Linked DNA regions of Homo sapiens: region 2 is linked to region 1. Evidence: promoter capture Hi-C in 16 types of primary human blood cells and fetal thymus (Javierre and others, 2016). All regions are on one chromosome and are shown on one strand. The core of a region is centred on a gene start or on the middle of the fragment in contact, and the rest is flanking DNA. Distances in the headings are between cores, read along the strand shown.

Region 1 (5,148 bases), core at 1,538-4,037:
CTGGTCTTGAACTCTTGGCCACAAGTGATCCTCCCACCTCAGTCTCCCAAAGTGCTAGAATTACAGGCATGAGCCGCTGTGCCTGGCCATAAGTAAATATATTCTTTGATCACATAATTTAATATGCATGCATAAAACTAATGCATTTCATGGGATATTAAAGATAGGTATAAAGGAAGTCCTAATTGTTCAGGCTTTGATCTTGAGTTTTATTGGCCCAGACACCTGATTTTATAAATGTGCCCACATTTGATAAAACTGTGGGTATGTGTTGTAAATATACAATTCACAACACTGACTTATAAAACAAACTGGCAATTTAAGTTTACAATGGCTAATATATCTGGCAGAATGATCATTTGTAGCAATTCCTCTTTATGGGAAATGCCAACCAGAAGCTCAAATTATAACTCAGAAAATTGCTTGTCTAATGTTGGAACAAAGGGAGTATATCTTAGTTTTTTGTTTTTTTGAGACAGGGTCTTGCTCTGTCACCCAGGCCAGAGTGCAGTGGTGCAAACATGGCTCACTGCAGCCTCGACCTCCCAGGCTCAAGTGATCCTCCTGCCTCAGCCCCCAAAGTAGCTGGGACTACAGACGTGTGCCATCATGCCTGGATAACTTTGTATTTTTTTTAGAGATGGGGTCTCACTATGTTGCCCCAGCTCTGCCTTGGCCTCCCAAAGTGCTGGGATAACAGACGTGAGCCACTGCTCCTAGCCCAGGAGTATATATTCTTTGTTTTTTTGAGATGGAGTTGCCCAGGCTGGAGTGCAATGGCGTGATCTCGGCTCACTGCAAGCTCCGCCTCCCTGGTTCATGCCATTCTCCTGCCTCAGCCTCCCGAGTAGGTAGGACTACAGGCGCCCGCCACCACGCCCGGCTAATTTTTTGTATTTTTAGTTGAGACGGGGTTTCACCGTGTTGGCCAGGATGGTCTCGATCTCCTGACCTCATGATCCGCCCGCCTCCACCTCCCAAAGTGCTGGGATTACAGGCGTGAGCCACTGCGCCCGGCCAGGAGTATATATTCTTAAGCTAACATTTCCATCAAGATAGGTGAATTATATGCAAAAGAAAGGAAATCAGTGTATCGAAATGATATCTGCATTCTCATGTTTGTTGCAGCACTATTCACAACAGCCAAGATTTGGAAGCAACTTAAGTGTCCATTAACAGGTGAATGAATAAGAAAAATGTGGTGCATATACACAGTGGAGTATTATTTCGCCATTAAAAAAAATGAGATCCTGTCATTTGCAACATGGATGGAACTGGAGGTCATTATATTAAAGGAAATAAGGCAGGCACAGAAAAAAAACTTGGTATGTTCTCATTTATTATATTTGTGGGAGCTAAAAAATTAAAACAATTGAACGTATGAGAAACGGTAGAACGATGGCTACCAGAGGCTGGGAAGGGTAGTGTGGGGCGGGGGAGGACCCCGGTGGTCGGTGAGCATGGTTAATGGGTACGAAAATACAGTTTGAATGAATAAGATCTAGTATTTGATAGCACAATAGCATGACTACAGTCAACAACAATTTATTGTACTTTTTTTTTTGAGACAAGAGTCTTGCTTTGTTGCCCAGGGTGGAGTGCAGTGGAGTGATCTCGGCTAACTGCAACCTCCGCATCCCAGGTTCAAGCTATTCTCCTGCCTCAGCCTCCCGATTAGCTGAGATTACAGGCGCCCGCCACTACGCCCGGCTAATTTTTTGTATATTTAGCAGAGACGGAGTTTCACCATGTTGGCTAGGCTGGTCTCAAACTCCTGACCTTGTGATTCACCTGCCTCAGCCCCCCAAAGTGCTGGGATTACAGGCGTGAGCCACCACTCCCAGCTTATTGTACATTTTTAAATGACTAAAATAACTGGATTGTTTGAAACACAAAGGATAAATGCTTGTTATGGATACCCCACTTACCCTGATATGATTATTACACATTGCATGCCTGTATCAAAATATCTCATGTACCCTATAAATATGTACACCTACTATGTACCCGCAAACATTAAAAATTAAAATATTTTTAAAAAATTAATTAATTAATCAAATTCCATTCTAAGAACAATCAAGCCGAAAGTGAGGAATTACTTTAAATGCTTTGAAGCTCAGCATCCCGGGGTTCTTATCCGTCACTAATTACCTATACATTTGCAGGTCTCAGTTTCTTTGCTTTGTAAACATAGGCTTCTTGTAAGGATTGGGATTATACACTGAAAAAGCTTAGCACAGTATTATTACTATTATGCTATCTACATTATATTATAGGTGAAACACTACAGATTATAATACATACAATATATACTAATTGTATTATATATTGTTATTTTTTGTCATTATGCTATTTACTATTGTTCTATTTAATAACTCTCTAGATAATTTAACAGGACAAAGGTACAGAACAATCTGGCCCTTACAAGCCGGCGGAGACGGGTACGAATTACCATGACAACAGCGCGCGCCTCGACATTGTCGGCTCGCGCGTTGTTTGGGAAGAAAAAGCCTAGGCTGCGTGTTGCGTCATCATTACGCGCTCTTAAGGTTTCTCCGTGGTGTTTTGGAAGGTCCCGGCACGGCTACCGTCGCCCCACGCTAGGAAATTTTTTTTTTATTTTCAACCTTTGTTACATAGCACTGAGGCTACAAGATCGTAAGTACTGAGGGAAGAAAGAACAAGCGAGCGATTGAACGTTAAAAAGATGCCTTAGCATGCACTCCACCTCTGAACCTTCCTGTGTGTTCTTAATCCTATCAGCTTCCTCTCAGCTGGGATCGCGCCGCGTCAACTTCCGGGCGGATGCCCGCCAGCACGGCCTCCGCCGCTCCCCTTCTTTGGCCCCTTTGTGTCCCCGCAGTGTCGAGGCGCGGGCCCTGGCAGGTCCTTTCTCGAGGCAGGGGGCACGGTAGCACAGGGAGCTTCTCTTTGTGGGCGGGCGCGAGGCCCGCTAGGGGGTTATACTGGGGAACGTGCCTGCGCGTGCTTGGGTAAGAGGAGGTTGCATGAGGGTCAGCTCGTGGTTTCAGTAAGGAGGGGCGGGCGGGGGAGGCGGACGAAGGGGAGTGAAAAGCAATGGAAAATTTTAAAAGATACCCCCGTCCACCTTCTAATTGTTGCGGCCTAACAATGAAGCGCAGCCATAACAGTCCTGAGCCACTGGCATGTTTGCGGGCCCTTTATTGCCTTGGGAATAAACTGCTGTGGCATTGTATCGTATATTGTTTTCATGGCCTTTTTTCCTCTCTTTATTTTTCCCCTGCAGATAGTTCATTTAAAGCCCCCATCCCTGCAAGGTGGTGCTTTCTACCAATATGAATCTTTTCAACCTGGACCGTTTTCGCTTTGAGAAAAGGAATAAGATTGAGGAAGCGCCCGAAGCAACCCCTCAACCTTCCCAGCCTGGCCCTTCTTCACCAATTTCTCTTAGTGCTGAAGAGGAGAATGCTGAAGGGGAAGTTAGCAGGGCAAACACTCCTGATTCAGATATAACTGAAAAAACAGGTGAGTTACAATGTTAAAATTGATGTAACATCAAGGACAGTTTTTAAAAGATGAAAGGCAGAAGGGATTCTCATTTTTATTCTTGATGTCATATATATTGATGCATTGTCCTGCGGTGTGCCCTTTTAAATACAGCTTTGGGACTGCCATAAGCACCATGTACCCTCAACTGAGCATCCATCCATTGTCGCCTCACTTTTATATGAGTTCTTCGAATATGGCCCCATGGTGGAAGTTGAAATTAGAATTTAGGGCATCCATAGGTCAGAACGGTTGCTATTGGAAGAGCGATGTCAGTGATTCAGTCCTATGATAAACTTTGAGGCTATTTGGGCAGACATTTTCATTCATTCCAGTATTCCCTCAAAATATTGATCATCTACTGTGAGCTAGACATTGAGCAAGGTGCCTAAAGACAACCTCTGTACACAAGGGAAGATCAGATCACATCAAGTTCTTGCATCCACCTGACTTCCTGGATGTCCTCAGAATGCAAATGAGTAATTGGTATTCTTCATGGTGAATGAACATTTTTAACCTCATCAGCAGATTGTCAGAGACAAAAGTATTTGAGGATAAGCCAAAAATTAAGATTTCCACTCGAATCTATGTTCATTGAACAGTTAACTATTAGAGGAATATATTTGAGCTCTTGTTGTATTATAGGAATAGTGATAAGTGCTTCACCTTCTGTCATTTAATTTGCACAATAATCCTACAAGGTAGATATTACTGACATAGAGGTTAATGTGAAATGAGATTCAGAGAGGTTATTAGGAACTTGGTAGAGCCTGAACTCAAGTCCTGGCAGTATGATTCCTGAGCATAAACTAATTAGTTAGTTTCTTAGGAAAGGTGAAAGGAATGTTGGAAGTTATATTTTAATATTTATTTCAGTAATATCTTTTTTTATGCAAAACTCTGTTTCGTAAACAGCTTTTAACTTAATGTAGCCTGAAAGATTGGTAACACACATGTTTATCCTTGGTATCTTTTTGTTTGCCACCCTTCTACTTAAATGTAATAATGATGGCAGATCCTCTGCAAGTTATCATTAGAATAACATTTTTAAATACTTTGGTGTAATTGGAAATTGGCAGAATGATTTGGTAGATTGGATTAGGAGTCAGATTTACAAAGGCTTTGTCTAAGTAGTTTTGAATTTAAATGCTATAGGGAACAACTGAAGGATTTTAAGCACCAGGATTTTAATCCCTGTGTTCACTCTTTGAATAGATATTTGACATCCAGGTATTTTAATGCTTTTCCAATGAATATATTTGTCTGTTTCCTCTGTAGTTAGATAGTTCAGGAAAGCCAAGGTGTAGACATGGGATTTCGAGTCCATAGAAGCTTCTGCTTCTTCATTTTTGTTAAATGTGGGACATTAGACAAGTCATTTGAAATCTGTGATCCACACTTTTTTCATCTCTGAAAGTGAAAGCAGTTTGTAAACTGGATTTCAGTGGAATGTTTTAGTTATTTATCAGTATTGGTCATGTGAAATCTTTAATTTCCTTTAGTGATCAGAAGATATTTTTCTGTTTTTATTTCTTTCTAATGATAACACTCATTTTCTCTTTATTGGGACTTTTTTCCATACATAAATTCTGCTTAAAAACTGAGATTGCTTTAGGAATT
Region 2 (5,148 bases), core at 2,119-4,618, about 11 Mb after region 1:
TGTATCAGGATGAAAGTTTATTACTTACACTAGAGCAAGTGAGAAAATTGAATGGAATGTGAAAACCATACCTAATTTTATGTATCTATACCAGACAGCTAAATGTATGCCATATACCAACATATGATTACACACGACTACAAAACCACTTATAGAGATTCTTACTGGAAGCTTCAGCAATGACTAAAGCTAACTTTGTTTTATTTTCTGATAAAAAGATTAAGAAATGTAAAGGAGCCTAAAAACTTCAATAAAAATGCTTCCTCTGTTCCATATAGATCACACAATTCCTATTTCACAGCACTGATATAGAAAACGTTTAAGGTTTTAAGGACTGAAAAATCAAATAAAATACTTTTTCTATATTCACACAAAACCCATTGTGTTCCATTATATCAGTTGAAGTTCTATGATATAGGCCAACTTTAAAAAGTTACAGAAACTCATATTTAAGACTCAAACAAATTTTGTGGATTATTCACGGGAAGTTCTCTTTTAAGTCCAAAGATACAGCACTTTCAATGGCAGATTCCTCCTACTACCCAAATGACATAAAGAAAACCTACAGTAATTTCAACACAAGCACATGCTTACTATAAGTGACAAAGCAAATTAATTTTAAAGAACTGCTTGGTTCATTCCCAGACTAAATAAAAGCAACTTGAATTATCCACAGCACTATTTCTCTAAGTAAACCAGTTGCCTATCCCATAATAACAAAATTCCTAATTATGGAAAGCATAGCTTTTCCCTATCCTATGAGAACAGTATGAAATCTAAAATAAAATTTCAAGTTATTAACGAAACAAAACAAACAAAAACACGCAAGATATCAAAGGAATACTGGCATGCAGCATTAGGTCTTTGGCTCAATATAAGTGAGTCTAACTTCATTATGATTTCACAGTTAATTTAAAAGACTGCAAGTACCCATTAAAACTTTAAGACCTAGGAAGCCGGGCACAGTGGTGCATGCCTGTAGTCCCAGCTACCCAGGAGACAGAGGTGAGAGGATCGCTTGAGCTGGGGAAGTCAAGGCTGCTGTGAGTCGTGATTGCACACTGTGCTCCAGCTTGGGCAAAAGTATGAGACCCCATCTCTAAACAAACAAACAAACCAAAAAAATAAAAATAAAATGAATAAACAACAACAACAAAAAACCTTCTGAAACCTATAAATTAACAGGAACACTTCAAAATAATCAATCACATCACCTTATTTTCTCCCTTCACAGAATCTAATAATAAGGATTTTAGTCTAATGTCTTAAAGTCAAAAGGGAAAAATAAATAACATTTATTAAATACCTATCACGTGTGAGACACTGATAATTACACACATAGTCTCATTTAACTGCCACAGCAATTCTATAAAATTACTAGTGCTATCCCCATTTTATTTACGGAGAAACTGAGCTACCGGATGTCATCTGAAGGTAAGGGATGCCTCTGGTTAATTCAGTCGAGTGACTTGTCCAAGACGGTAAAGTCAGGACTACAACTTAAGTGGTTTGACTATTAGTTTAGAACTGTTACAGCACAGTTGCTTCTGGAAGTTGCAGAAATCATAACCCTGATGTCACTAAGATGTTAACAAATGTTCTGAGAAATAAGTACTCTGTGGTTCAGTTTTTGGAGAAGTTACATCCGAATTTTCCAGAACTTAAATAGGCAAATTCTTCTTCAAAAAAGTAATAAAATGGGAAGTGTTCTAATTTATTAAACCATGAAACCCTCTGTTTTAACGAAAACCTAATAATATACCATGGGATGCTTGTGTTCAACTAAGCAGTCTGGAAAATGATCATCTGGTCCAATCTCCTCATTCCATGGTTTTAAAAAATGAGATGCAGGGAGGTGAAGTGACAGCAAGATACTAACAGGGTCAGGGCTGGCACCAAGGAGGCCTGATGATTCCCATCAGGATACCCTTTCCCCTAATCATCCTGTCTCACTCTTTCTACAAAGTTTAACACCAATTTTTTTTTAAGTATTACATCAATCATTTATTCTGATTTTACTGAATGACAGTAAAGAGAAACCATTTACAGACATGAAGCTCGAAAATGTTCTACCTCCCAATGCACTAGTATTTCAGAGACTTGGAATATATTTGGAGATGTGGAAAATGATTACACTTTAGTAACACTGAGTAACAATTTTAGGCCAAGTATACTACACTCATATTTTTTTTGAAGTGAGACATTAGTCCACCCTAGTACTGCATACAGACACACTGAGTAATAAATATCCAATCTGTGATCATCTTTATAAAGGGCAATTTATTCGTTGCTTTCCCCTTACCCCATTCGCCCTAGAGTGGCTTCGTTTCACTTTGCCCTACCCCTTCTAGCAGGTAGTAAACAGTCCTGGCCAGTGATGCCATCTGGCGGTTAGTTCAGAAATTGTTTAACCAACACACCTTCCAATCAGGATCTTACCATCGGGACCCTCTCCAAAACCACACTCCCCTTTCTTCCAGTTTTTGCCCATTTACCTTAGTAAAATCGGGTTTTCTTCTTTCCTGCCCTGTTTATCCAACTGAATGAAAAACGTATTTTATTTGTGGCACTCTAGTTACAGAAAAATCATGAGTCCTAAGTACATTTGCAGCTAAAGAAACAAACCAACAATAAGAGGCCAACATACTCCCAAAAATGCCCCCATTCGACATCCTGTCTTAACAGAGACTGTTAGAATCTCCGTTATTCATCCAATGCCTTCAGGGAATACCAGTGCTGAGAAGGACCTTGAGGATCATCGTTTCAAGGTCAAAAGCTTCATTTTACAGCTGAAGAAACTGGCTCTGTGAGAAAGAACTGAAGTAACCACCCACCCAACAGCACACAGCGAGTTAACGGCAGAGCCAAGATTATGGCCTAGGACTCCCCATTCCAAATCCGGTACTGGGTCAACTACTCTGTGCGCTCCTGGCTTCTCAAGCCTGTTTTTGCTCAACCAGTGTATTTACTTTTTCCATAATTATAGTAATATTGTGAATCTCTGTACTATGCCTAACAGTGTCTAGCACACTTCATAAATATTTATTATTTGGGTATCTATTAATTACCGTACTTATTGCAAATCTAGAATACTTGCAGTAGACAGGCCTTTTTTCAATCTGCTTAAAAAGCGAACTGCCACTTCATAATTTTTTCTGACTATTCCCATTAATCATCACATGGTAACCTTTTAGAACATAATCCATTCAGAAATTTGAGACTTCCTGTTCACCTGATCAGTCTTAACCAAAGATAGAAGAAAATATGTGGCATAGGGTGAAAACTGCAACCAATTTTGAAGAAAATAGAAATTCTAGTACTAGTTGCATTATAATCACACGACTTTAGGCAAACTCTTCTTTCCCACAAAATAATCCTCGACCCTAAACTCATGTAGCATAACTGCAAATCTCTCATAAATTACAAATATCTATAATGATTATCGGTATTAACAATAGTAATTTATATTTTAGGCCCTGTGACTAATCAGTTTACATATATAATGTCATGTAATACTTGCAGCCCTATTTTACGGATGAGAAAAAACAAGGCTTAGCAACTTAAACTCGTCCGGGGTCACAGAGTTAAGACGTGAAGAACTCGAGGGCCTGCTTAGAACTGAAAGCCTCCAGAGCCAGTGCTCCGAAAAGGGGAGCGATAATGCAAGGCCCACTTTGATACTACCACTCCAAGGCTCTGCAGTCAGTGGGGAGTGAAGGCAAGCGACCGACATCGCTATTTTCTGTTACGGTTAACGTACACAGTGAAACAATGGGGTACACGGAACAATGAGTCACGAAGACCTGGGTCCTTTCTCTGAGCTCGGCAACTCAGGGACCCCCCCGAAGTCGCTTAGCCTTCTGGGCTTGTTCAGCTTGGGGAGGAAAAGGGGCTGCTCCGGAACCAACGAGGCTTTGGATGGTGGATCACACTCAGGGTGTAAACTTGTGCGTACCAAGTCAAGCTTCTGGGGAAAGAACCTTCATCAGAGTCCCTCCAAAAAAAGAAGACGCGCTGGATTAGGCATCCGCAAAGTTCCGCCTGCCTCTCCGACGTCAGGGAGCTCCCGCAGTAGGAGGTTTCTTACGCCTCTAGGAAGGCCGGCGTGTGGGCGGGCTCTGCCTTCCCTTCCTCACTGAGTTGTGTGAACCGGGAACGGCGGCCGGGCCGGCTAATGGCTGCAGGCCGCCGCGGGGTGGCCGCTTGCACTCTGCCTACCCCTCGGGGAGGGCGGCTGGCAGGGCACAGGGCGCTATCTACCCCCCAGCCGGCAGCCCTGCGCCTCTGCTCTCCGCTTTGGGGTCTTGATCCGCCGCCTCCTCGCTGGCAGTTCTCGTGACTCGGTGCGCGCTCCCGCGGGAAGTAAGGTGGCCTGGACCGCGCGGCTACCGCTGAGGGCCCCAAAAAGAGAGAAGGGAGACCGCGCGGGGCGTCCCAAGTGTCCCCCATTCCATCCCCCACCCAGGTTTCTCCGGTGCGCCGCTCGGCGAACCTCCGGGAGCTACTTACTAAAGAAGAGGCGGTAATTCTGCGAGCAGGGCTGGCCGCGCTCCTCAGTGTGGTACAGGGCCATAGCACGGCGCGACCCGGTCCCTGCACTGGTCCCCAACCGCAGGCACGCAGCGGCTGGGGCACCCGTGCGCAGCAGCCGCAGCAGCGCGCTCATGGCGTCAATGACGGTCCTGCTGTGCGCGCGGAGCTACCTGGGGGCTCGGCCGGGCCGCACGCCGGTGCCCCCTACCGTCCGGAGTCATCCCTCCCGCCCCGGCGCTCGGGCTGCGATCCTGGTCCCTGCCAGTGGAATCTGGAACACCAGCCAGTTGTGCGCACTATGCCCTCAGCGAGGCCGCAGCTCAAAGACGAGTGAGACAAGACCCACCACCCCTGAAGAGCTCACTGCCACTCGTTAATTCATACATTTATTCATGCCTTCATTTATCCCGTCAAGAATTACTATCATGATTTTTTAGTATAGTGATGTAATATTGAGTGATTACTCTGTGCCAGGAACTGCTCTAGACCCTGTCCAATATAGGAGATGAGCGCACATGCACGCAAAGACATCACTATAAGACAAAATGATCAGGCCACCACGTGAAAACGGGACGTTGACACCGACTTACAGAGCAAAAAACCCTAAGTAGCTTA

The links. Contacts are between HindIII fragments. The CHiCAGO score rates a contact against its expected background, and 5 or more counts as called.
Region 2: a contact is called between a fragment that was not itself captured here and the fragment with the promoter of SMARCAD1 in region 1, in 2 of 17 cell types (total B cells and naive CD4 T cells). The highest score is 7.1, in total B cells.

What each region holds. Positions count from the first base shown.
Region 1 is chr4:94,205,078-94,210,225 of GRCh38, forward strand. SMARCAD1 (SNF2 related chromatin remodeling ATPase with DExD box 1) reads left to right here and starts at 2,788. Exons shown (of 24, transcript NM_020159.5): 1 at 2,788-2,993; 2 at 3,269-3,507. The coding sequence starts at 3,318. SMARCAD1-DT (SMARCAD1 divergent transcript) reads right to left here and starts at 2,479. Exons shown (of 9, transcript NR_125922.1): 1 at 2,453-2,479. RefSeq lists enhancers at 2,407-2,766, 2,865-3,368. The HindIII fragment of the contact is 2,630 bases long and covers 2,229-4,858 here.
Region 2 is chr4:105,469,385-105,474,532 of GRCh38, forward strand. PPA2 (inorganic pyrophosphatase 2) reads right to left here and starts at 4,678. Exons shown (of 12, transcript NM_176869.3): 1 at 4,510-4,678. The coding sequence starts at 4,666. RefSeq lists enhancers at 3,859-4,028, 4,319-4,438 and a silencer at 4,659-4,868. The HindIII fragment of the contact is 1,188 bases long and covers 2,775-3,962 here.